5 separate regions of the Homo sapiens genome follow, and regions 2, 3, 4 and 5 are each linked to region 1. Evidence: promoter capture Hi-C in 16 types of primary human blood cells and fetal thymus (Javierre and others, 2016). All regions are on one chromosome and are shown on one strand. The core of a region is centred on a gene start or on the middle of the fragment in contact, and the rest is flanking DNA. Distances in the headings are between cores, read along the strand shown. Region 1 holds the start of NRP2 (neuropilin 2). Region 2 overlaps PARD3B (par-3 family cell polarity regulator beta). Region 3 overlaps PARD3B (par-3 family cell polarity regulator beta). Region 4 overlaps PARD3B (par-3 family cell polarity regulator beta). Region 5 overlaps PARD3B (par-3 family cell polarity regulator beta).

Region 1 (4,919 bases), core at 1,322-3,821:
TTTGTGTTTAGTTCCCAAGAGTCCTTGGAAGTCTTAGGTTAAAACAATTCTAAGCCCTCTCTGGGCCGGTGGGGTCTTGTTCAGAGTAGGCTGGGGAGAGATCGGCCTCACTCTGAATCTTCCCTGGTCTGATAAAGCACTTTGAACTCCTTGGAATTAAAAGCACCACCAGAAGTGTGACCCTGGGTGGTGTTACCATTATTTATTGAGTGCTGCCCCCTAGAGGATTGAAAAATGGTCTGGCCGCTTGAGTCCCCAGGGATGGAAACCTGAGACTCACTCTCTGTCCAACTGCAGGAAATGAGGCCTTCACTCAAGGGGAGTGGGAAGTCTTGCAGCCCTGGTACAGAGGACTCCCAGGAAGTAAGTGAGCGTCCCCTGTAGGACACCGCTGAAAAATGAAAAGTTACAGTGTAGGCAACCAGGCCAGGAACAAAACTGATTCTTACTTTTCTCTACTCTGGAAGCAGCCTGATGGGGACCTTCATCCCTGAGACCCCAAGACCAGAAGTCCAGGGTTGTCATTCTTATGGTTCTCCAGTGGGCTTAGGTTTACCTTTTCTCTCTTCTTTCCCCCTTTCACAGTGCCCTTCACCTAAACCCTGGCTACATTATTCTCACAAACAGGAGTCTCCCACATTGGGCACTGGCAAAAATGGTTTGGCATGCCTGGTGAGTGGTGGGGAGAGGTGATATTAAATGGCCCTCTCTATTCAGGGACTGTCACTACAGATAGCGTTCTTTGTCCTTAGATTAGCATCTTGGCAATGACATAAACCGGGATCTCTGCTTAAGGTTAATAATCCAAACTGCTCTTTTACTTTGTTAAATATTTAAGGCTTGGAGTCATTCTTTACAATTGAGCTTTAAAGAGGAGAAATGTAAATCTGGAGTTTTTAATAATGTGGATGTGCTCTCAAGCCTAGAAAGGAAGGAAGAAGGAAGGAAAGGAGGGAGGAAGAGGAAGGAGGGAGGCAAAGAGGGAATGAAAGGTAGCATTTAGGCTAGCCAAGAGACATGCTCCCTGGAAGAACTCAGAGGCCTCTGTGCTGTGCCTTTCCCAACCAGGCATCTGAGATTAACAGTGTGATACTCAGCCTGTGGATTTCCACTCTAAAATCCCGCGCCACCCCCCAACACAGCTTGGCTCAACTATTTGCAAATCACTTCTGATTCAATTTTGTTTTGGTTATCTCAGTGTAAATAACAGTTAAGTGGGAGTTACAGATTTTTCAAACACTAAAAGTGATAAAGCTAATGGGCAAGTCCAGATAAGGAGGGAAACCACCCAGAAGAATCCACAAGTACAAGCCAAGAAGAAAATGGGTAGTCAGGTGTGTGTTTCTCGTCACCGAAACTGTATTTTTCTTAATCTACAGAAAATTTTACTTTCTTAATTTAAAAAAAATCTTAATCTGTAAATATTTTTCTGAATTTTCTTATTTTTCATATACCTCTTTTGTGGCAGAAAAGGTGTACATGTGCAGGGTGTAATTTAGGCTGTTTCTGTTGCAGTCTTTATGATAATGTAGTAATAGGTGTCTGGTGAAGCAAGACAGTTTGGAATCCACAAAGCCATCCTCAGAAACAAAGATACAAGTGTTTCCCCAACTGTTAGCTTGCAGTTCCCTCTAAACAGTTTTCACGCCTCCATTTAAAAATAGTTGGCATAATGATGTTTTCTTTCTCTAGGCTTTGTGACCACGTTTCCATGGGGGAAAATGTGAATAGACGTAGTTACAGTAGCATTTGGATGAGACGCCTTCAAGCACCTATACTTTTTCGGGGGAACTTGATGGAATCCAATTTAATTACCTGAAGAAATTATTTGCTGAAGAAAGTCTTTCCTCTTTTTAGGGTAGTTACAGTTAAAGGCGCAGGGGTAACGAAATCCTAACCCAGAGAGGAGCAGAGCATGTTTGGGACATAACAAAGGATCTGAGTAGTAAACGCAGCGAGTGTTTGGGGTTTTATTCAGACCGGGCTGACGGTGTGTGTCGCCGCCACGCACCGCTGCCTGTTCGAACGCATGGCTGAGCTGCCGACCGGCTCGCTACCCCAAACACCGTACGCCACCCAACTCCTCTTGTAACGCCATCGCGCGTGGCATTGTGTTGGGTTCTGCGTGTGTGGCATCGGAGTCGTGGAATTTAGGGGGAACAAGGCTTTTCCCCCCGTCCCCCCGGGGTCTCCCTTGGGTGGGGGCGACACGGCCAAGGCGGCGCGCCCTGGGGGTGCCCGGGGGCGCTTCTTCCCCAGGGCGTTACGCACCGGCGGCCCGGCGCGGAGGTGCGCGGGGGCGATCGGGAGATGCGGGGCGGGCGAGGGGTGGTGGGATGGGCGCCGCCTTAACTTCGATCCTGCGGCGGCCCGAGAGAAGCCGTCGCCGCCCCGCCCGAGCTGGGTGCCGCGGCACTCTGCTCTGCGCCGCGCGTCTCCGCGGCTGCCTCTTTAATCAGGAACACAGAAGGGGCGGGCCCTGAGCCGGCGCGTAATCGGATAGCTCTGCCGCGGCTCTGACATCCACATGCTGCTCGGCCTGAAAAGGCAGTGGGGAGCCGGAGGGGAGGCAGAGATCGCGAGCGAGGCACCAGCCTGCAGCCGGCCCCCAGCACATCCTCAGCCGCACAGACACTCGGCGAGGTGGAGGTGAGGGCGGGCGCCAGCGAACTCGGAGAGGGGCTCGCTCACTCCCAGGCGATCCCAGCCGCCACCGCCGCCGCACCAGCAGCAGCAACAGCAGCAGCAGCTTCCTTCCTCAGACTCCCCTCGAGAGGCTGGCCAAGCGGGTGTAGCCGTTGGGGGAGGCTCCCGCCGGGGGAACCCGGCGAGGACAAGAGCAGGGCGGCCGCCTTCCACTCGGGCTGTCCGGCGGCGGCTGCCTCCGCCCGTGTGTCCGTCAAGGGTGCCGCGGGATGTGTGTCAGTTTACGCCTCTGAGATCACACAGCTGCCTGGGGGCCGTGTGATGCCCAAGGCAAGTCTTGGTTTTAATTATTATTATTATCATTATTGTTACGCTTGGCTTTCGGGAAATACTCGTGATATTTGTAGGATAAAGGAAATGACACTTTGAGGAACTGGAGAGAACATATATGCGTTTTGTTTTTAAGAGGAAAACCGTGTTCTCTTCCCGGCTTGTTCCCTCTTTGCTGATTTCAGGAGCTACTCTCCTCCTGGTGAGGTGGAAATTCCAGCAAGAATAGAGGTGAAGACAAGCCACCAGGACTCAGGAGGGAAACGCTGACCATTAGAAACCTCTGCATAAGACGTTGTAAGGAGGAAAATAAAAGAGAGAAAAACACAAAGATTTAAACAAGAAACCTACGAACCCAGCTCTGGAAAGAGCCACCTTCTCCAAAATGGATATGTTTCCTCTCACCTGGGTTTTCTTAGCCCTCTACTTTTCAAGACACCAAGTGAGAGGCCAACCAGGTAAGCCACTGAAAGTTTTTCTATTTATTGCAACATGGTTTCCCCTTTAAAAGTGACCGCTAAAGCAGGAAGGCCACGCAGAACGGCACAGAAGAAGGCTCCCTCAGTACTCAATAATTTAAAGAGAGATCCCAGCCGGCCCTTCCTACACCACCACGGCTGCTAAAACCCAACTTTCCTCTCCTGCTAGGAGTGTGTGTGTGTGTGTGTGTGTGTGTGTGTGAGTGTGTTTTGAAACAGAATTTGGCGGTGTTCATATGTCACATATGGACTGAATCAAAGGTTTAAAAATACTACAAAGCCTTTGCATTACAGTTTTTGGGAATTTTTTTTCCCTGTCTTGAAGCAGAACACATCTCCCTTGAGTTTCTCCAACTAGCCAGTGAAATATAAATCATTTGCATTCCCTCCACTTAGCTACATTGAGCAATGTTAACTGAAGGGCTTGGGAAAGACAAGAGTTTAGTTTTGGTTTTCAGATGCTGTAGATTCTTTGGAGAATGACTGGTTATGCTTCAGAATCATAAGGCTCAGGCTGGTGGAGCAAGTTGGCTTGTGGCTGAGATAGGGGCTTGGGGTTGGGTGCTGCTGGCAACCAAGACGGTTGGTCTCTTCTCTCTTCATCCATGTGTTGTCTGGGAAAGTAAATCGTACGTTCTTTTAGAAATTATTATTAGCTAAAACAAATTGCAGGCCCTCGAAGGTCTCTCACTCTTGTGAAGTGGTTAGAAACTTTTGAGTGGAATTTGTTCTCAACCACTGCCAAAAAGGGTGTGTGGACAGGCTGCTGTGGAGATAAGCATTTCGAGGCCCAGAACAGTCTGGGGACCGCATTTGTGGGGAGCGGCAAGGGGTATGCTCTGGAAAGGGGAATCCATGGGGAATGCAGTGGGGTTTGTGCTTCCTTCTCGGACCACTCTCTAGAGTGAGCCTCCCTACCCCTCTGAGAACAGTGTCTGGAATCTAACAACAAAACTCTTAGCAGCTGCTACAGGTGATTGGAGATGGAGAAACCATCTATGGAGGAAATGGGTGAAAGAAAGGCGAAAAAGCCTTCCTGAAGTGCCCTCACCCAAGGCACTTGCAAGGCGATGGCGGCAGTGGTAGAGCTAACTCTGCAGCCTCCTTGGCATCCCCAGAACATCAGCTAGTGGATCCTAGCCTTGCATCTGGTACTGTCACCCTTCCTTCTCCTCACGCCCCCCACCAGCACACACACCACTTTAAGCTTGGGCATTTATTTGAGGGGGGAAGAAAATTCAGGAATGCCTTTGCCACCCAGATCCGCACGTTTGCAGCTCTTTCTTTGCCATAAGTGGTCTTCAGGGCAGCTGCAAATCCTGCCAAAGGGATGGGTGGGGGTCCCACTTGGGGAGATTTTCTGGGCCTCCGCCGTTCCCCCTTGCCTTATTTCTAAATTCCCAGCTTGAAGCGGAATTAAATTACCACTCACAGACCTGGATGCTGCGTAAATTATGTATGTTT
Region 2 (4,919 bases), core at 1,289-3,788, 940 kb before region 1:
AAACTAAAGATTAACTGATTTTTAAATTTAGATTAATTCAGAAAGAAAATGCATTAGTTAAAACAAAGATGTAAAACGTTTTTATTTTTTAAATTCATATTTTCATTTCCATAGCATTTGGGGTACAGTGCTTTTTTTTGTTACATAGATGAATCCTATAGTGATGAATTTTGAGATTTTAGTGTACCCATCAAACTGTGTGTACATTGCACCTAATGCGTAGTTTTTATCGCTAGCCCCCCCTTTCATCCTCCTCCTCCTGAGTCTCTAATGTCTATTATATCACTCTGCATGCCTTTGCGTACTCATAGCTTAACTTCCACTAGTGAGGACATACAGTTTTTGGTTTTAGGTTTTCTACTCCTGTGTTACTTTTTTTAGAATACTGTCCTCTAGCTCCATCCAAGTTGCTGCAAAACATATTATCTTGTTCTTTTTAATAGCTGAGTAGTATTCCATAGTGTATATGTACCACATTTTCTTTATCCACTTGGAAGTTGATGGCATTTAGATTGGTTCTACATCTTTGCAAATGTGAATTGTGCTGCTGTAAACATACGTGTGCAAGTGTCTTTTCATAGAATGACTTCTTTTCCTTTGGGTAGATACTCAATAGTAGGATTGCCGGATTAAATGGTAGATCTACTTTTATCTCTTTAAGGATTCTCCATACTGTTTTTCATAGAGGTTGTACTAATTTACATTCCCACCAGCAGTGTATAACCATTCCCTTTTCCCCACATCCACACCATTATCTATTGTTTTTTGACTATTTATTTATTGAGATGGAGTTTTGCCCTTGTTGCCCAGGCTGGAGTGCAATGGCCCAATCTCAGCTCACTGGACCTCTGCCTCTTGGGTTTAAGTGATTCTCCTGCTTCAGCCTCCCTAGTAGCTGGAATTACAGCTATGGAATTACAGCTGGAATTACAGCACATGCCACCATGCCCAGCTAATTTTTGTATTTTTAGTAGTGATGGGGTTTCTCCATGTTGGTCAGGCTGGTCTCGACCTCAGGTGATCCGCCTGCCTGGGCCTCCCAAAGTGCTGGGATTACAGGCATGAGCCACTGCGTCCCACTGACTTTTTAATCGTGGCCATTCTTGCAGGAGTAGGGTGATAACTCATTGTGGTTTTAATTTGCATTTCCCTGATGGTTAGTGATGTTGAGCATTTTTTCATGCCTTTGACCATTCGTATGTCTTCTTTTGAGAAATGTCTATGTCTTTTGCCCCCTTTTTAATGAGATTATTTGTTTTGCTGATTTGTTTGTGTTCCTTGTAAATTCTGGATACTAGTCCTTAGTCAGATGTGAACTTTGCAAATATTTTCTCCCATTCTGGGTGTTGTCTGTTTACTCTGCTTATTGTTTCTTTTGCTGTGTGGAAGCTTTTTAGCTTAATTTGGTTCCATTTATTTGTTTTTGTTGCATTTGCTTTTGGGATCTTAGTCATGAATTCTTTGCCTAGGCCAGTGTCTAGAAGAGTTTTTCCAACATTGTCTGCTAGAATTTTTATAGTTTCAGATCTTATATTTAAGTCTTTGGTCTATCTTGAGTTGATTTTTGTATGAAGTGAGATATAGGTATCCAGTTTATTCTTTTATATGTGGTTTGCCGGTTTTCCCATTTAATACATAGGATGTCCATTCCCCAATTCATGTTTTTGTATGCTTTGTTGAAAATCAGTTGGCTGTACATATTTGGCTTTATTTCTGGGTTCTCTGTTCTTTTCCATAGATCTATGTGCCTACTTTTATACCAGTACCATGCTGTTTTGGTAACTGTAGTCTTGTAGTATAATTCAAAGTCCAGTCATGTGATACCTCCAGATTTGTTCAAAAACTTTTGCTTAGGATAGCTTTGGCTATTCGGGCTCTTTTTTGATTCCATATTAATTTTAGGATTTTTTTTTCTAATTCTGTGAAAAATGATGTTGGTATTTTGATGGAAATTGCATTGAATCTGTAGATTTCTTTAGGCAGTATGGTCATTTTCACAATATTGATCCTTCTAATCCATGAGCATGGGATGCATTTCCATTTGTGTCATCTGTGATTTCTTTTAGCAGTGTTTTGTAGTTCTCCTTGTGGAGATCTTTTACCTCCCGCATTACATATGTTCTTAGGTATTTTATTTTTTTTCCTGATGTTGTAAAAGGGATTGAGATCTTGATTTGATTCTCAGCTAGGTCACTGTTGGTATATAACAGTGCTACATTTTTGTGTATATTGTAAATCTAACTTTCTAATGTGGAACTAATGAGATTGGAATCTGAGGCTAGAGTATTAGCTTTATATTTTTGCGTAATAAATTACCACATAGCTTCTTAAAACAAGTCTAGTTTATTAGGTAGGAGTTCTGAAGGCCAGAAATCTGGACAGACTGAGCTGAGTTCTCTAATTAGGGTCTCACAAGGCCAAAATCGTGGTATCAGCCAGGCTGGGCTCTTTTATGGAGGCTTTGGGATGCTCTGTTGCAGAGTTTGACCTCCTAGACAGGCAGGTCTGAGGTCCCCACATCCTTTCTGGCTGTTCATTATGGTCACTCCCTGCTCCTAGAGGGTGCCCCAATTCTCTCTTGCATTTCCCTTTCATCGGCAAATGAGCAACATCTGATTTTTTTTCTTCCCTAACTTCCCCTTCTGCTAACATCAGGAGAAAACTGTTTTTAAATGGCTGATGTAATTAGATGAGACCTACTAAATAGTCTCTCTGGTTTAAGGCCAACTGTATCATATAACATAAAATAATTCCAGGGATGATGTCTCATCATATGCACAGGTTCTAGCTATACTCAGTGGGAGGATTATGCAAGGGTGAGTATCACTGGGAATTCTTAGGATTCTGCCTAAGAGTTTCTACTTTGGTTTTTGGGAGACAATTTTTTAAATCTACTTTTTAATCTACTTACTGGCATGTGTATGTTAGTTCTCTGTGCTTTATCACCTGCCTATTTATTGAATTGTATGTGTTACTTCACTGTACCTCAGCATCTGTCAACTTATTTAAATGTGTGTGTTGGTTTTCTGTGCCTTGGGATCTACTCATTCATTGGAATGTGTGTTTTGGTTGATTGTGCCCCAGTATCTATGTATTGAAATGTGTGTGTTGGTTCACTCAGCCTTTCCATTTATCTATGTATTGAAATGTGTGTGTTGGTTCATTGTGCCATGGCATCTGTCTATTTATTGAAATGAGTATGTTGGTTTTCTGGACCTGGGTATCTGTCTATTTATTGAAATGTGTGTGGGGGTTTCATCATCTCTATTATTATATTATTATTATTTTGAGAGACAGTATTTTGCTCTGTTGCCTAGGCTGGAGCGCAGTGGTACAATCATAGCTCACTACAGCCTCAAACTCCTGGGCTCATGCAAACCTCCAGCCTCAGCCTCCTGAGTAGCTAGGACTACAGGTGTGTGCCACCACACCTGGCTAATGTTTTTGTTTTATTTTATTGTAATGGATATAAGGTCTTGGAATGTTACCCAGGCTGGTCTCAAATCCCTGGCCTCAAGTGATGCTCCCAAACTGCAGGGATTACAGGTGTGAGCCAACCATGCCTGGCCTCATTATGTCTATTTTATCTGTGTATTTTCTCAATGTAAGATAAACAGTTATTTTTATCGGAAAAAAATTTTTGGTTTTAATATTATTTAAGAGGGCAGGCATTTCCTTTTTAAGAATAAAGCTTCTCAGCTTTATTTTGTAATCATAACACAGTAATGACATTTTTAAAAGAAATATACAATGCCCCTTTTTTTTTTGTATTAGTTTCAAAGATATTCCCTAAACTTTAATTCTGTTTTCTTTCTTTCTTTTTCTTTTGTTTTTTCTTTTTTGTGATGGAGTCTCAGTCACTCTCTCATCACCCAGGCTGGAGTGCAGTGATGCCATCTCGGCTCACTGCAACCTCTACCTCCCAGGTTCGAGTGATTCTACTGCCTCAACATCCCAGGTAACTGGGATTACAGGTGTGCTATCATGCCTGGCTAATCTTTTTTTTTTTTTAGTTTTTAGTAGAGACAGGGTTTTTGCCATGTTGGCCAGGCTGATCGCGATCTCCTGACCTCCAGTGATCTGCCTGCCTTGGCCTCCCAAAGGGCTGGAATTACAAGTGTGAGCCACTATGCCCGGCCAACTTTAATTCTTTACATCTTCGGCACATTTATTTTCTGATTGCTCTGTATGAAATCAAATCCAGCCATAACTTTATTGCTAGCATGCTTCAGTTATCTATTTCTGTAAACAAGCCAGCTTAGCCGCAGTAGTATAAAACAAAAACTGTTTTATTATGCTTCTGGATTCTGCAGTTTAGGAATTTAGGCAGGGTATGGCAGGGATGCCTGGTCTCTGCATCATGATGTCTGGGGCCTCAGCTAGAATGGCCAAGGCTTCAATAGCCAGGGAGACTCAAAAGATTGAAATCTAAAATCCTCTGAAGGCTTCTTTACTCTTATGTCTGTATCTGGGCTGAGATGACTAAAAGGCTGAGCTCAGCTGGGGCTGTCCACCAGAGTGCCTACATGTAGCCTCCTCATGTATCTTGGGCTTCCTCAGAGCATGGTGACACCAGGGTGCACAGATTTCATACATGACAGCTCTAGGCTCCCAGTGCAACTGAAAAGTTAATCTAAAAATCTTATATCACATTTGAAATAGAACATGTCCCAATATTGTTTCTCATATTTGATAGTGGATGTTTTTGTGTATCTTAAAGTGTGTTCATGTGTTTTAAGTTATGGTTTTATCTCTAGAGAAAAAGCAATGATGACTTCTAAATCATAAAATTGAGACTCTTAGATGGATGGAAAAATAATATATTACCTATATATTATTCATAGATAAGTAGCATTTTTATTTCATTTCAAAATAATTGGCATCAATTTGAATAACGCATAGTTTAAGAAGCTTGTAGC
Region 3 (4,919 bases), core at 830-3,329, 840 kb before region 1:
TCCCTGAGTAAAAATTGTGTAAGAGGGTTCTAGGGTATCCTCTGTTCACTATGTGTAGATCATAAGTTGAGGAAAGAGATTTTAACCATGAAGTTAAAGTCATATGCTACACCAAAGTAAGCTAGATGTTGATTTGCCAAATCTGTAGTTAATTTATCTCTGCTGGGCTCCATTTAGGATTTGATTTTAAGAAGGGAGTTGTTTGCCATAATGTTACAAGGTCAGCCCTGTTCTGGGTTTCTATTAGCTACAGTTAGTGTTTTGGAGTATCAGAGAAACGGTGCTTCCTTATATTCAGCTCATGGCATCAGGAGGCACAAAATCTGTGCTTTTACAGCAGCATAAATTTCTCTGGTCAAGGTCAGTTGTGTTAGCAAGGCACATATCATCGTATCAATTTTACATTTTCTAAGTCATTTTGTAGACATTTTGTTGAGTAAAAGTATTCTCTTACTTCTAGTAAGGTAGTTTCAGGAAAACACTTAAGTATTATATATGTAAACCAAACAGACTTTTCCCATTGATTAACTGTATTTTCCATTTTGATTTTAGAAATGTTTACCTTAAGCCTGGCCACAGCTTTGTGGCGACTTCTTCAATGTACTCCCTGCCTCAATCTGATGTGGCCATGCACTCGAAATTCTTAACTTTCTATTTACTCTTTTAGAGAGAGATGATTTGTATAATCTTTCTCTTCTCCACATCCCACTGTTCCCTGTATGTCCCTCCTTTTCTCTTGTGCCTCATTTTGTGTGTGCATTTGACAACAAATGCAGGGAGGAAAACAAACAAACTGAGTATAATCAGCAAGAAAAAACATCATCTTATGAACTGGCAACCAAATTCTTCATGAAGAATTTGGTTTTTGAAGAACAACTGTTTTTGTTCAAGATAATACTTTGAAAAAAGATTTGTCATAGAAGTTTAAAAACTTGAATAGACAGCTCTCATTGTCTGTAAGGCTAGGTTTCTGCGGCTTTTAATGTGTAAGAGACTTGTCCCATTTAACAATAAATATTTTAGTGCCACTTAAAAGTATAATTAATATATCTTTCTTAAAAGTGGTATTCCCTCCCTCTACGTATATTTCTCTTTCCTCAGCCCCAAAAGCACATATTCAGGGAGGGAAGGTAAGGGATTTACATCCTTTTTCCATCACTACGTCAAAACTTATACAATTTATACAATTTAATATTATTAAGGTAGTTAATGTAGCAGTTCATGTGAAGTTACTCAGTAGAAATACTTTAAATCATATAAAAATATAGCTGAATATAAATTGAAGGGTCAGAGATTAAGGGTGAAGCAAGTTTTAAAAATCAGAAGCATTTCCAAATTCAAGTTATTTGGGGTAGCTGTAGAGAAATAATTGAATGACCCTTAGCAATATTTTAGGAAAACTTTTACCTAATGAAAAATTCTACTCCAAAGCTGTGTTTTACTTCATAAAATTAATAGAAAGTGGGGAATATCTCTACACTTCCAATATCATGCTTTCCTTTAGTCCTAGTAAAAAGGGACCCAGAATCTTTGTTTTACCCTCCCAAATTACCCACTTTAATACGAATACATGAAAATAGATTTTAAAAAAGAAGTGAATAAAATAGATGAATTTGTCCTTTTTTTTTTTAACTATGGTCCTTAGACAATAGCTTTCAACTCTCCATAGAACTGGAACAACTTGCACGATGTTGACTACAGTAAGATAACAAAATTGTATATTGTATGAGGCAAATACGTGTGGTTGTCTTATCTAACCACAATGATAAGTACGGTAGTGTCATCCAGGGTTTCATCTTCTGCAGTTCAGTTACCTATGGTCAACCACGGTCGCAAAGTAGGTTGAGATCATTACAATGAGATATTTTGAAAGAAAGAACACTTTCACATACCTTTTACTGCAGTATATTGCTGTAATTATTCTTTTTCATTATTAGCATTGTTAGTCTCTTATTCTGCCTAACTGATAAGCTTTATTGTATGTAAGTATAGGAAAAAACATAGTGTATATAGGGTTTGGTGCTATTACCAGGGTCAGGCATCCACTAGGGGTCTGGAAACACATCCCCTGTGGGTAAGGGAAGACTACTGTACATAATTTGATTCTTTCTTTCTTTTTCCCAAATAGTGGTCATATTTGATCAGTCACCTTTGCTCATGAAGAGCACATTGGCAAGGACAACACAAAGAAGCTTGTTCTGCAACTCGGTTTTCTTATGTTAAATATTTAGTTTTCTGCTTGCTTCTTCTTATCTGTTTGTACTTGGTAAGGCTCCCTCCTTCTTATGTGATAGGTTGGATGCTGCCGGAGAGGTTACTAGTGCATGGAAGCTCCAAAACAGAGTGGAATGGAAAATTATAGCCTCAAGGGTATCCTTGGGAAGGAGCCAGACAAAAGGTGCATGCCCACATTGAGACAAAGCTAAAGCAAAACTACCAGGTGTTAGAAAACCCAGAGCACATATACAAGAACAAGGCAAAAAATTCCTGTTACTCTAACAGTATGCCTTACTTTTCTTTAATTTTACTTATTTGTAAAGTAGACAAATGCCCCTGTTGTGTCTTGTTGAGTTACAAGTGCAACAAGTAGCATTCTAGAGTGGGATGTTACTGTCAGTGCCTGTTTTGGGTCACTTTAATATACTGCTGTTTAATTGATTTTATATCTGAAGATGCAGGTCTTTAACATGGACAGATTTTCATAAGATCACTGGAATACTGGCTTTCTTTTGTTTTGCGATGAGGGCAAATTTTCTGTGGTTTATTTTTCCCCATTTCTGGTGAAAATAATATTCTCTTTTCCTCTTCTACAGGGAAGATGGCAGTTTCCTCAGTTAAACTTAGGATCTTTGTCCCTTTTAAATAGGCCATTGTATAAAATACAAATGATCAAAATTGTATCACAGTAATAATTAGCTAATTTTTTTGCAGAAGTTTTTTGGTGGGGTTTTTTTTTGGTGTCAACACAACTTTAAAATAACAAATAATAAGAGAAAACTTTTTAACATTGTAGGAATATGTGAAATTGAATAGCAAACTCAATTTAGATGAGTTCACATGAATAACATACTTCAGGTTGGTAATATTCCAGAAGGTTCAACTGCCTCATAGAAAATTAAATCTCTGAAAAATTCCCCGACTAAAAATCATTTGAAAATTCTAATTTTTTCTAATTATTTGGATTTTCTTATGTTAGATTTCATTTCATGGAAGGATATTGAGTTTGTGTATATTCCTGTGTGTGAACATGTGCTTGTGTGTGCTCTTAATAGCGGTTATTTTTCAAAGCAATAGTCTTTCAAGCCTTTCTCTAATCTCTCCAGCATCTAAAATGAGGTGATATAAAACTCCCAGGTGGGTACTAAATATTAGATTTGTTGACACCAGCATGGGTGCTTGAGTGGTAGTGGGAAAAAGAAAAATGATTGTCTAGAGTTTGTATGCTACAGAATTGAGGTGGTTTCAGCTGCTTTCATTTCCTTTAAAGAATAATATTGTTTTTTTCAAATGAGGAGGATTAAGTAAGCACCTTAAAAAAAGAGGAGCAATATATTGACAACATCTGGTATGAAGAGTTATTATAAAAGGTAAGAGGATCTGTGCCAGAAAAAGAATGGAGAGGGAGATTCTCTCTAATAAATAAATTTCTTTTAAATGTGCCTAAAACATTAAGGGGGTTTTTCCCATTTAAATTTATCTTTGAAAACTCCCTAGAGAAGGAGAGTGGTTTCTGTAACAGCTGGTTAGAATTGCTGAGCAAATGTCTGGAAAAGATGATTTTGAAACAATGTGTTTTGTAATGTTTAAACATTTTACATTTTTGTTGAAACCTGACTTCTGATGAAGAAAATCGCTCTGTACAGCAGGCCTGCGCTGTGGGCTGCTTTTCTGCTTTCTCTAGAGCTGAGTCACTGAGGACTGCTACCTTAGCTCCTCAAAGCTGTTAAATTTCTCGAAGGGAAGCTGAGTCATTAGGAAATGTACCAGAATAGGAGAAAGTAGGTCATTTTGCTAGACTTGGCAAAACTTTCATCAGCTTCAGATTCGCAAGATCTGCAGTTCTCAAACTCCAGGGTTAATCAGAATCTCCTGGAGGGCTTATTCAAACATGCGTGTCTGGGCCCTCCTGGCAGAGTTCCTGATTCAGTAGGTCTGAGCTGAGCCCCGAGGATCTGTATTTCTGACAGGTTCCTAGGTGAAGGTGATGCCGCTAAACCTCGGCCCATACTTTGAGAATTGTTACACTAGTGAAAGCTTGGAGAGAAAAAAAAAATTAGACAAGCCTTCCCCAAAGGTTTGGCAGTCAGCTTCATAGTTGGATGGAGGAGGACACTACCATTTATTAATCACTAGATACTGTCCCAGTCTTGACATTCAATCTTCCATCCAATTCTGTAACATGAGTCATGGTATATCTATGCTGCATAATCATCTGTACAGAACTCACAGAACTCAGTTAGTTTGTTTCCTTCCTCTTCTCTCCTCTCCTCTCCTTTTTCTTTTTTTTCTCCATTGCCCTGGCTGAGGTACAGTGGCGTGATCTTGGTTGACTGCAACCTCCACCTGTGGGGTTCAAGTGACTCTCCTGCCTCAGCCTCTTGAGTAGCTGGGACTACAGGTTCACACCATCACACCTGGCTAATTTTTGTATTTTCATTAGGGACGAGGTTTCGCCATGTTAGCCAGGCCGGTCTCAAACTGCTGACCTCCTCAGCTTCGCAAAGTGCTGGGATTACAGATGTGAGCCACCGCGCCCAGTCCAGAACTCAGTTTCCATAATCAACCTGCCCAGAGTTTAAAGCCAGAGAAGCAGGTGCATCTGAATTTCTGCCTTTGTCTGTTTAGATCTAAAGGTTCAACTCTTTCTATCAAAACATACTTTTGTACTTGTTCTCAACGTGTCTTTATTTCCTCTTCTT
Region 4 (4,919 bases), core at 1,493-3,992, 820 kb before region 1:
AAGACTCCCTCTAAAAGAAAAAAAAATATATATATATATATATATAAGGAATTTAAAAATATATAATACATTATTACTAACTGTGGTCACCATGCAGTGCAGTAGATCATTAAAACTTACTCCTCCAGTCTAATGAAACTTTGTAACCTTTGATCAACATTTCCCTTTCCCCCATTCTTTCTCCCCATTGCTCCATATTCTGGTACCCACCTTTGTACTCTCTGCTTCTGTGAGATTGGCTTCTTTAGATTCCTCATGTGAGTGAGATCATGTGGTATTTGCCTTTCTGTGCCTGGCTCATTTCACTGAGCAAAGTACTCTAGTTCCATCTATGTTGTCCCAAAGGATGGAATTTTTCTCTTTTTAAAGGCTATATAGTATTTCAGTGTAAACATACCACATTTTCTTTATTCATTCATTTGTTGATGAATAGTTAGATTGCTTTCATATCTTGGCTATTTTTGAATAATGCTGAAATAAACATGGGAGTGCAGATATCTCTTTGACATGTTGATTTCATTTCCTTTGGAAATATATCCAGAAGTGGGATTGCTGGATCATATGATAATTTTTATATCTTTTAGGAAACTCCATACTGTTTCCCAAAATGGTTGTACTGATTGACATTCCCACCAACACTCTACACAAAGGTTGCCTTTCCTCCATATCTTCACCAATATTTATCACTTGTCTTTTTTGTAATAGTCATTCTAACAGGCAGGAGGTGATATCTCATTGTGGTTTTAATTTGTATTTCTTTGATGATTAGAGATGTTGAGCATTATTTTCATATATATTTTGGTCATTTGTATTTCTTCTTCTGAGAAATGCCTGTTCAGATCCTTTGCCCATTTTTAAAACAGTTTTCTTTCTGTTGAATTGTGGGAGTTCCCTATATATTTTGAATATTAGCCCCTTATCAGATGGACGGTTTGCAAATATTTTCTCCCAATCTAGGTTGTATCTTCACTCTGTTAACTGTTTCCTTTGTTGTGCAGAGGAAACAATTTTTAGTTTGATGCAATCCTGTTTTTCTGTTTTTGCTTTCATTGCCTGTGCTTTTGGAATGCTATCCAATAAATCATTTCCCAGACTGGTGTCATGGAGCATTTCCCTTGTTTTCTTCTACTTATAGTTTCAAGTTTTATGTTAGATTTCTTTATTCTTTTGAGTAAATTTTTGAATATGTTGTGAGATAAAAGTTCAATTTCATTTTTCTGCTTGTGAATATCCCATTTTCCCACCACCATTTATTAAAGAGACTGTACTTATTTCCAATTTTGGCACCTGTGTGTCATAATTTACTATAAATACTTAGATTTCTTTCTGGGTTTTCTGTCCTGTTCATTGGTTGACGTGTCTGTTTTATGCCATCCAGTACCATGCTGTTTTGATTATAAAAGAGTTTTAGGATTTTCTTTTTTAGATCAGTGTGTAATGCCTCCAGGTTTTTTGTTTGTTTGTTTGTTTTGCTCAAGATTGCTTTGGTTGTTATGGGTCTTTTCTTGTTCCATATTTGACCCCCACTCCACTTTTAAATTTAAAAAAGAATCTCTCACTTATTATCAGTTATTGCTGAAGCCAGTGAAATTCATATTATTATCTGTTTTGCATCACTGTTTGAATGCTGCATATCAATCCCCTGGTGAACTTTGAGCATCTTTTTTCAACTTTCTTCAGTTAATATCATTCAGATTCATGAAGGCACATCTTTCTTCAGCAGTTCATAAATTAGCAGCATACATTTTAGGGGAGAGCCTTCATCTAAAAGTAACTCTTTATCTTAAGAATAAATCCTGTTTGTATCTGTCTCTCAAGCTATTGGTGCCTTTATAAGTTATCTTATGTGGAAGAGAATGTAGGGGAAGGAAAATTTGTTTTCTCACCCATTTCTAGGTTCATGACTGAGGCCCCTATAGGAAAAGACAGATGAATGAGAAAAAATCATACAAATGTACTTAATATAAAAGTTTTATGTGACATAGGACACTTCATAGGAAAATTAAGATGCAAAAAAACAGAGAGACCTGTGTATTTTTATGCTAAGTTTGATTAAGAAGTTGATAATTATAGATAAATATTTTTGGACAAAGGGAGTATGATCTAATGGAATTGAACTGGGGGACAGGGGTCAAACAAGGCCTTCTTGTTCATATTCTTCTCTGTGTCTTCAGAGATAAGAATGTTTCTTTCCTCCAAGCATAGGAAGAACACTTCTGGGGAGAAAGTCAGAGAGTGACATCCTCGATTTTATAGCCTGCTTCAGGGGACAAGAGCCAAGGGAAGGTGAGAATGGCCTTCCTGCTTCTGAAGTTTTCTCAAATGTCAAGATGACATAATTAGAGATTCTGAACCCCATTAAGAGCTCATCCCAAGACAAAAGGAATGAGACAAACATATCCTTCTACAGATCCTTAATCGTCTAAAGGGAGGGTTAGTCCTGAACACTTGGTAATTTGGATTTGTCTTTCAAACGGTACTTCAATGGAATTTATCTGGGTTCACAGTTCCAAACTTTAAATTATGGTATAAATGGATACAATAGTGTATCCATAATATTGTAAATGGATTCAATGGATTCCATAAGTTTAAGTATATATAAACAGCATATTTAAACTTAAGGAAACTAGTTAATTGCTCATTTTATCAAATACGTTAATACTATCATATTAACCTTAGTTTTCATCAAGTGGTAAAATATCTTTAAAGTTAAAGTACCAGAGAGGATCACCTCAATTGAAACATGTTCATTGCAGCATTATCCACAATAGCCAGGATACAGAGACAATCTAGGTATTTATCGGTAAAGAAACTGTGGTGTGTATACACAATAGAATATTATTCAGCCTTTTTAAAAAAGGAGATTCTGCTCTATGCCACAACATGGATGGTCCTGGAGTATATTTTGCTAAATGAAACAAGCCAGACACAGAAAGGAAAATACTACATGAACTCACTTATATGTGGAATCTAAAAAAAAAAAAAAAAGGAAAATGAAATATATAGAGAGGATAAAACAGTGGTTGCCAGAGTTGGGGTAGGGGAGGAAATAGATTTAGGTCAAAGGATGCAACATAGGGTACATTAATGATAGTGTATTGTATTTACGATTTTTGCTAAATGAATAGATTATAGCTGTTCTTGCCATGGGAGGGGAAATGGTTAACTATGTGAGATGATGGGTGTGTTAATTTGTTCTACAACAGTAACAGTTTTACTGTATATATAGGTGTATATATTATATATACATATATAATATATAAAAAATATAGTAAAATACATATATAATATAACATGTTATATACCTTCAATATATACAATTTATTTAAAAACTCATTTATGATTTCAGTTAGAATTTTTAAAAACATTATGCTTCAGAGTATTTATTGCTTTTAACCCTCACAAAATTATGCATCATTCTCATGTTTCCAATATTCACCTGGGTTTGTCTAAGTATTTGAGGAAAAGTAAAAGTTTTTAAGAACTTTATTATTCTCAAATTTCAGTGAAATTAGAATGTAAAATCTTAGATGTGAATACTTTTACATGATGTTTATTAAATATAGTATGCTTCAAGGCAAAAAAATATGACATTGAAGACCAATATTTAATAGCCAATTTTTTCTTTTCTTTTTTCTTTTTCTTGAAGTGAGCAGAATATGCATAATGATAGGTATGATGAAATTTTATTTAGTGGTATTCGGAAGTATTCGACTTTAACAAGTATGTGCTGTTCTGTTGTGAATAAAAATTTGGGAAATAAAAACTAGAAACTTTACTCTGCACATATTAGGAGTATAAAAGTAGATTATGTTTTTAGAAATGGATGAGAATAGCCATATACCCCAACATCAAGATCTATGGTCTACAAAGCTAAAAGATGTAAAAGAAATGTGGAGGTTAATACAATAAGAGCACCCTCCCCCATTTATAAAGGTCAGACATGCCTATGGTGTACATTGCTATCTGTAAAGATTGGAAAACCTCAGATGTTGCATCTTAAAATATGTACATTTTCTGACATTTGGGTAGAACAATATAATTTCTTATAAATGAACTTGATTCCTGACATTCAGTTGAATGTTAATTTAATTTTGGTGCTAGTATAGCAAAGTCTTCCACATGTCATCGTAGTTGAGTTATCCTAGGAGTTTTGATGACTGGGAATAAAGAGGGCCTCCCTTGAAGGCTGGGCAGTGATGGAGACGTAAGATAAATTCATAGCAGTAACAAATCTAGAAAGAAAAGCCCTAGAGCATAACCCACAGCAAATCCTGAAACTCTCTTCCTTTAAGGAATTTCCTGGTGGCCTTAGGGAGGATATTAATGGAACTCTTTAGGCTTAACCTTGTTAAGGGACTGTTATGCAGCCCTTGTTGTTTTCTACTTTAAAGTCAAGAATTTTAAGCAGATTAGAATGAAGAATAGTGCAGTGCAGCATAAAGTTAGTATTATACTGTTAATAACATTCATCTGAATTATTAATTTCTGCCAGCAGTTGCTTTTAATATAATCAGGATTAACTGTAGAAATACGGATTGTTTTCCCCTTTTTGCTTTTTTATCTGAAGAATAATTTATTGTAATTAAGAATACATTATAAAAACAAAAAGGAATCGCAGCTATAAAAATGTGTTATATCAATGACTGATTATATTAACATTCTATAGCTGTCTAATTTCTTAGGCTAAAAAAAAAATCAAAGGAAATTGTTTCATTCAAATTGTTGAGCTTTTTGCCATCTTTAGAACCAGTCAGCTAGAGGAGAGTGTTTGTGACGATTACCAAGAATGGTTAAAACCAAAAGGTGTTGGTTTGCTTGCTCTCTCTTCTGGTGAGACAGCCATTTGAAATAGCATTCAGGCAGCGTGGCCTGGACGCTGAAGCAGAGCTTGGCAGATGGTACCGCAGGATGGAGAA
Region 5 (4,919 bases), core at 1,598-4,097, 790 kb before region 1:
TTAAAAGAAGCCCAAACTGCTGTAGATGAGGATGCTGCTTTCTTTGATTTAACAGTATTAACAGAGCACTATTCTATATGCAGCGCCATTTCATACCCTTTGGGTATTTTAGCAATTTGAAATCACATCCCTTCCCTCAAGCAGAATGCAAGGTAACTGGAGACATAAAATGAGCACACATGTAAAACCAAATAGCGATACAAGGCAACCCTACCAGAGGCATACGACCAGACAGTGCATGGTGCAATGCCAGAAGTTGACACTGTCATTGGGTGCTGTGGATTTATGGCAAAGGGCTCACTATGGATTTGAGAAGCCAGAAAAGTCCTTAGAGAGGAGGTGAAATTTGAGCTGATTCTTGAGGAATGTATGAGAACTGTTAAGACCCCAGCATTCCAACTGGGAGGGATCATTGGTGAAGTGTCAAGATGTCCATGGCAGGGGTGCAGGAGAGAGGTGAGCAGCAGGAGAATAATGAGGGGGCTGAGATCAGAAGAGTGGAAGTAGAATGGCAGGCAAGGCACAAGCACCAGTTTTGCAGGGAGGAGAGAAGGGTAGAGGTATTGAAAAACCTATGCTTTTCTAGAAATCTATGTGGAAATAGCTACTAAACATTTGTGGATGTGTATTGAGATTTATCAACAATAAGGCTGAGGATACCAGGCTTGAAGTGTTCCCAACAGAGAATATTGGGTGGCAAGTGACAGTGATGCAGAGTAAGATATGCAGTAGACCAAGATCTGGCAGAGAAGACAAGAGAGCAAACAGAGGAGAAAGGGAGAGAGGGAGGGAACTGTGTTGCACAAGCCAAAGGAACAGATGAGGCCTTGAAGTTGACATCAAATGGGACATAAATGTGTTAGAAGGTGTGAAGAGTGACTCATCCCTATAATCCTGGTACTTTGGGAGGCCAAGCCAGGCAGATCTCTTGAGCTCAGGAATTTGAGACCAGTCTTGGCAACATGGTGAAACCCCATCTGTACAAAAATACAATAATTAGATGGATGTGGTTGTGTGCTTCTGTAGTTCCAGCTACTCGGGAGGCTCAGGTGGGAGGATCATTTGAACCTGGGAGGTCAAGGCTGCTAGTAACCAAGATTGTGCCACTGTACTCCAGCCTGGGCAACAGAATGAGACCCTGTCTCAAAAAAAAAAAAAAAAAAAATGTATGGAGGGACCAAGATGAGGAGGCCTGAGAAAAGTTCATTTTCATGACAGTAGAAATCTCTTGAGAATCCAATAAAATGGTAAGAAAAACAAACAAAAGATAGGATAGGAGAGACTAACTAGGTATTTTATGAAACATAAGGCTGGTAAATTGTATATAAGCTAAAGAATTATAGATGAAACTTTTGATAATAGACTGTTTATCCCTAGATAACCAAGGCCAGATGAGGAATATTATGTGCAGTGCCAGGGTGAGATAAGTAGAGAGATAAGTAGAGGTGCTATTGCTGGACTCCCAGAGCTCAATGCCTTATGCTTCTGGTGTTGTTCTCTCATTGTGGGGAAACTGAGTAAGCCGTGCGTCTTTTTCATTTTGCCTCCCAGTTACTCTAGATTGGTTTTCTAGATCCATTAACTCTTAAGGGTCATTCCAGTCCAGCTCTGAGCACATCAAATCTATTGCTTCTCATCCTTTACACCAATAAGCTTGACTCCTTCTAAAGGTCTTCTCTGCTCTTCATGATCTCGATTCTTCCTGCATTCCTAAGAATGAAAGACACAAATAGCTTTTATAGAGAATGCCCTGTGATAGATAAAGCAGTTGTCTCTCTACTATATATAAAAGGGATGCTGATATTTGCCATCTTCCTCAATGAGCAGGACCAGTTACATTTGCAGGGCCCAATGCAAAATGGAATGTGGACCCATTATTCTCAATTTATTAAGAATGAAGCCAACAACAACAGAACAATAAACCAAACAAAGTAGGGGGTCCTCTTTGTGCATTACCCATGAAGCCAGCCCTGGCTCCAGAACTGTTCAAGTCCAGCTAGATGGCAGTGCCATTCTGCCATTATAAGAAGCAGCATGATCTAAAGGAATATTACAGATGTTTAAACAAAAAATTGAATATGTGCTGAGTAAAATTCATTTATGATGTTAAATGATTTCCAACAGTCAGCAGGCATGGCTGTGTATACCTCTGATAGTCATTCACAGTGTCAAACTACTTAGGCTTACTTTTTACATCCAGTTCACCACTGAACCTTCAACTGATTCAAGGCTGGTGAAGAGAAAACTGAAGATGTTAGGACTCTTCCAGAGTAACATACGGAAAGTTTCTTTTCCGTGAAATAACAAACTGGTTTTCTAATAGCTGTATTCTTTCCAACTGGAAGCATTCTAATCAGTTACCCAGAATTGCTGATTCTAAATCCATCTGAATTATATAATGTGTTTCTCCTTCTATAGAAAGAGGTATACAGTGTTTTTTTCTGGAAAGTTAATTTTACTTTTGGCATATGTTCTCTGGGACTATCGGTTTTATTGCAACTGGATGCAGAATTTACCATGTCTGCTTTGCCTTCTCCGCCTTCTCCGCATGCCAGCAGGAGCACTCACCACACTGCAATCCATCTGGCCCCTGGCTGGCAGTCTAGGCACAGTGTCAATGCTGTGGTGGCCCTAGTGTGTACAGGAAGGTATGCTTTGGTTCAGAACTGCATACATAGTAGGCATTTTATAAATACTTACTGAATGAATAAATAGAAGATGACAAGGCATGGAACAGCATAATGGTCTTGGGAATGCTTGTGTTTTCCTAATATATCCAGAAGGAGAAAATAATTTTCAGCCCCTAGTCAAGAAGTTTCATTTGCCTCCACATTCAAGGGTGGGAGTATCTCAGTTGATGAAATATATGCTTCTGACCAAAACATGTATACATTGAATATATATTAAATTTATTGGGTAATTATTTAAAGGAACAGTATGTTAATGGATTTTCCTTGTTTTGGGTACCATCATTGATTTCCACCTCCCCCCACCACATCCCCTTATAGTCTTTGTCTGAGGATTTCACTATAAATGAAATTAGCTGAAGAAAACCAGGAGAAAACCAGGACACATGCACAACGGTAAGTGTCACAAAGTGACAACTGAGCTAGATGTACACATGGCCTAAGGCCTGCTAGCCACAGGGAGGCAGGGATGTCCCCTCTTGCTCAGCCTCCCATCCTGTGTTCCCTCACTCATTTTTATTAAGTGATAGCACGTTTCACTGCAGCTACTACAGCATCTTTGCTGTCTGGAGGGTATTGTTTTGGATGCGGATGTTGTTTAGGATTTAAAACAACTGTGACATTGATCCTTTTCAACAGGCAAGAGATAATATCTCTTGCCATCATCCACTGCCTCCATGAGGATATTCTAGGAATCTGTATCTAATTACCTGTGCAGCTAATTACCACTTCCATGTTAAGCAGCAGCAGTAATCTCTTTTTCCTTTCAAGTCCATTTTATGGCATCAAACTGTATTATATTCTCTTTTCAATGGCTGCTGACAAAATTACAACAGCACCACCCAGGACCCGATATGGAATCTGCCTGCCCGTGATTCAACTGCACGCTGTGTGTTTTCTCTTAAGTCCTTTTCTTTTTTTTTTTTTTTTAACCTTGTGCTATTAAATACCTATACATCGGAATCATCTCCCCATAGCTCCATTTGTTTGATTAGCATTACGATACTGTGACAAGACACTATATCAGTAGTAATCGATCTGATTAGCATGGAGATGATATGAACACAGATTGTATTGATGTTTAATAGTGAAGGCATCCAGGTGCTGTAAACATTATAGATGTTTTTGTATGCTGCGTGCAAGGTCTCTGTATTGAAGACGGCAACCGCAGCAGATTTTAGAGCTCGATGATTTATTTTATGCCAAGTGCCACAGTGGGTCTTGCATAGTGTATGGCATTCCTTTGCTTTATCTTGCACAAAATGTTTTAATCAGTGTTCAAAATAATGCAAATATTTTCACTGGAGAGATTCTAATATTGCTTTATTAAGAGATGCTTGCAATACTGCAGTAAAAAGCTTACTGCAGTCTCATTGAAAACCAGCCACATTCTTCTCTGAACTCTTGTCTCTTCCCTTACTCTTGTCACCATTATACCTGGAGAGCTACCATTTGCCAGCTAATATTCAGCCCCAGATGTTCCCCCTGGACAATTTTTCTGAATTTGCCTATCCTTTGGCTCTCAGTAGTTAGGAGTATTTTCCCCTGGGCAGTTCTAGAGCTTTGTGCTCCTGTTCTGGTACCCCTGGCTCTGTGTTTATGCATCCATGCCTCTTTACTTTGTAATTAGGATGCCCCGAAGGTAGTCATTGAAAATTACCATGTCTTTGTACATGGCAACCAGTGGAATGCTTAGCATTGATTATTCATTTATTTATTTAACACATATGTATTGAGTGCTTCATGACGCTTATATTCTGCTGAGAGGGAGAGAGACAATATAACATTATAACACAGGTAATGATAAGTAGATAGGGGGAGCCAGAGGGGACAAGGTGAAATGGAGAATACTGTCTTATTTGTAGAGAAGAGGAAGAGCTTACATTGCTATGAAGGTGCAATCAAGGTGGGGAGAGAGCAATGAGTGTGAAAGCCATAGTCTGGAGTGTGCTTAGGCTCTTCCAGCAGGAGCAAAGGAACACCTGTGCCTGGAGGTGACTGTGGAGAGAGTTGGAGGTGAAGCTTGACAGGTGCAGTGGGTGGAGGAAGATCTTATTGTGGGCCACATTGAGGATGTTGACTTTGACTTGGAGTGAATTGGGCACTCATTAGCTTAGACCAGAGGATTTACTTTGAATAATATGAAACAGTCTCAATAACTGATCTATTCAGTATGGTAGCCGCTAGTCATGTGTGGCTGTTGAATACTTGTGATGTGGCTACCTTGAATTG

What was found. Contacts are between HindIII fragments. The CHiCAGO score rates a contact against its expected background, and 5 or more counts as called.
Region 2: a fragment that was not itself captured here is called in contact with the fragment with the promoter of NRP2 in region 1 in 1 of 17 cell types (non-activated CD4 T cells); the score reaches 5.2 in non-activated CD4 T cells.
Region 3: a contact is called between a fragment that was not itself captured here and the fragment with the promoter of NRP2 in region 1, in 5 of 17 cell types (non-activated CD4 T cells, total CD4 T cells, activated CD4 T cells and 2 more). The highest score is 8.0, in non-activated CD4 T cells.
Region 4: a contact is called between a fragment that was not itself captured here and the fragment with the promoter of NRP2 in region 1, in 4 of 17 cell types (non-activated CD4 T cells, total CD4 T cells, naive CD4 T cells and 1 more). The highest score is 10.9, in non-activated CD4 T cells.
Region 5: a contact is called between a fragment that was not itself captured here and the fragment with the promoter of NRP2 in region 1, in 5 of 17 cell types (megakaryocytes, M1 macrophages, erythroblasts and 2 more). The highest score is 13.3, in megakaryocytes.

The regions. Positions count from the first base shown.
Region 1 is chr2:205,679,930-205,684,848 of GRCh38, forward strand. NRP2 (neuropilin 2) reads left to right here and starts at 2,572. Exons shown (of 17, transcript NM_003872.3): 1 at 2,572-3,434. The coding sequence starts at 3,362. RefSeq lists a silencer at 1,973-2,092 and an enhancer at 4,567-4,919. The HindIII fragment of the contact is 6,030 bases long and covers 1-4,660 here.
Region 2 is chr2:204,736,183-204,741,101 of GRCh38, forward strand. All of the region lies in intron 2 of PARD3B (par-3 family cell polarity regulator beta), which reads left to right. Among named protein-coding and RNA genes, the nearest start is that of PARD3B, 190 kb to the left of the region's middle. The HindIII fragment of the contact is 2,302 bases long and covers 1,388-3,689 here.
Region 3 is chr2:204,838,915-204,843,833 of GRCh38, forward strand. All of the region lies in intron 2 of PARD3B (par-3 family cell polarity regulator beta), which reads left to right. Among named protein-coding and RNA genes, the nearest start is that of PARD3B, 300 kb to the left of the region's middle. The HindIII fragment of the contact is 221 bases long and covers 1,970-2,190 here.
Region 4 is chr2:204,855,528-204,860,446 of GRCh38, forward strand. The region is part of intron 2 of PARD3B (par-3 family cell polarity regulator beta); the gene reads left to right. Among named protein-coding and RNA genes, the nearest start is that of PARD3B, 310 kb to the left of the region's middle. The HindIII fragment of the contact is 8,221 bases long and covers 1-4,919 here.
Region 5 is chr2:204,887,586-204,892,504 of GRCh38, forward strand. All of the region lies in intron 2 of PARD3B (par-3 family cell polarity regulator beta), which reads left to right. Among named protein-coding and RNA genes, the nearest start is that of PARD3B, 340 kb to the left of the region's middle. The HindIII fragment of the contact is 2,392 bases long and covers 1,652-4,043 here.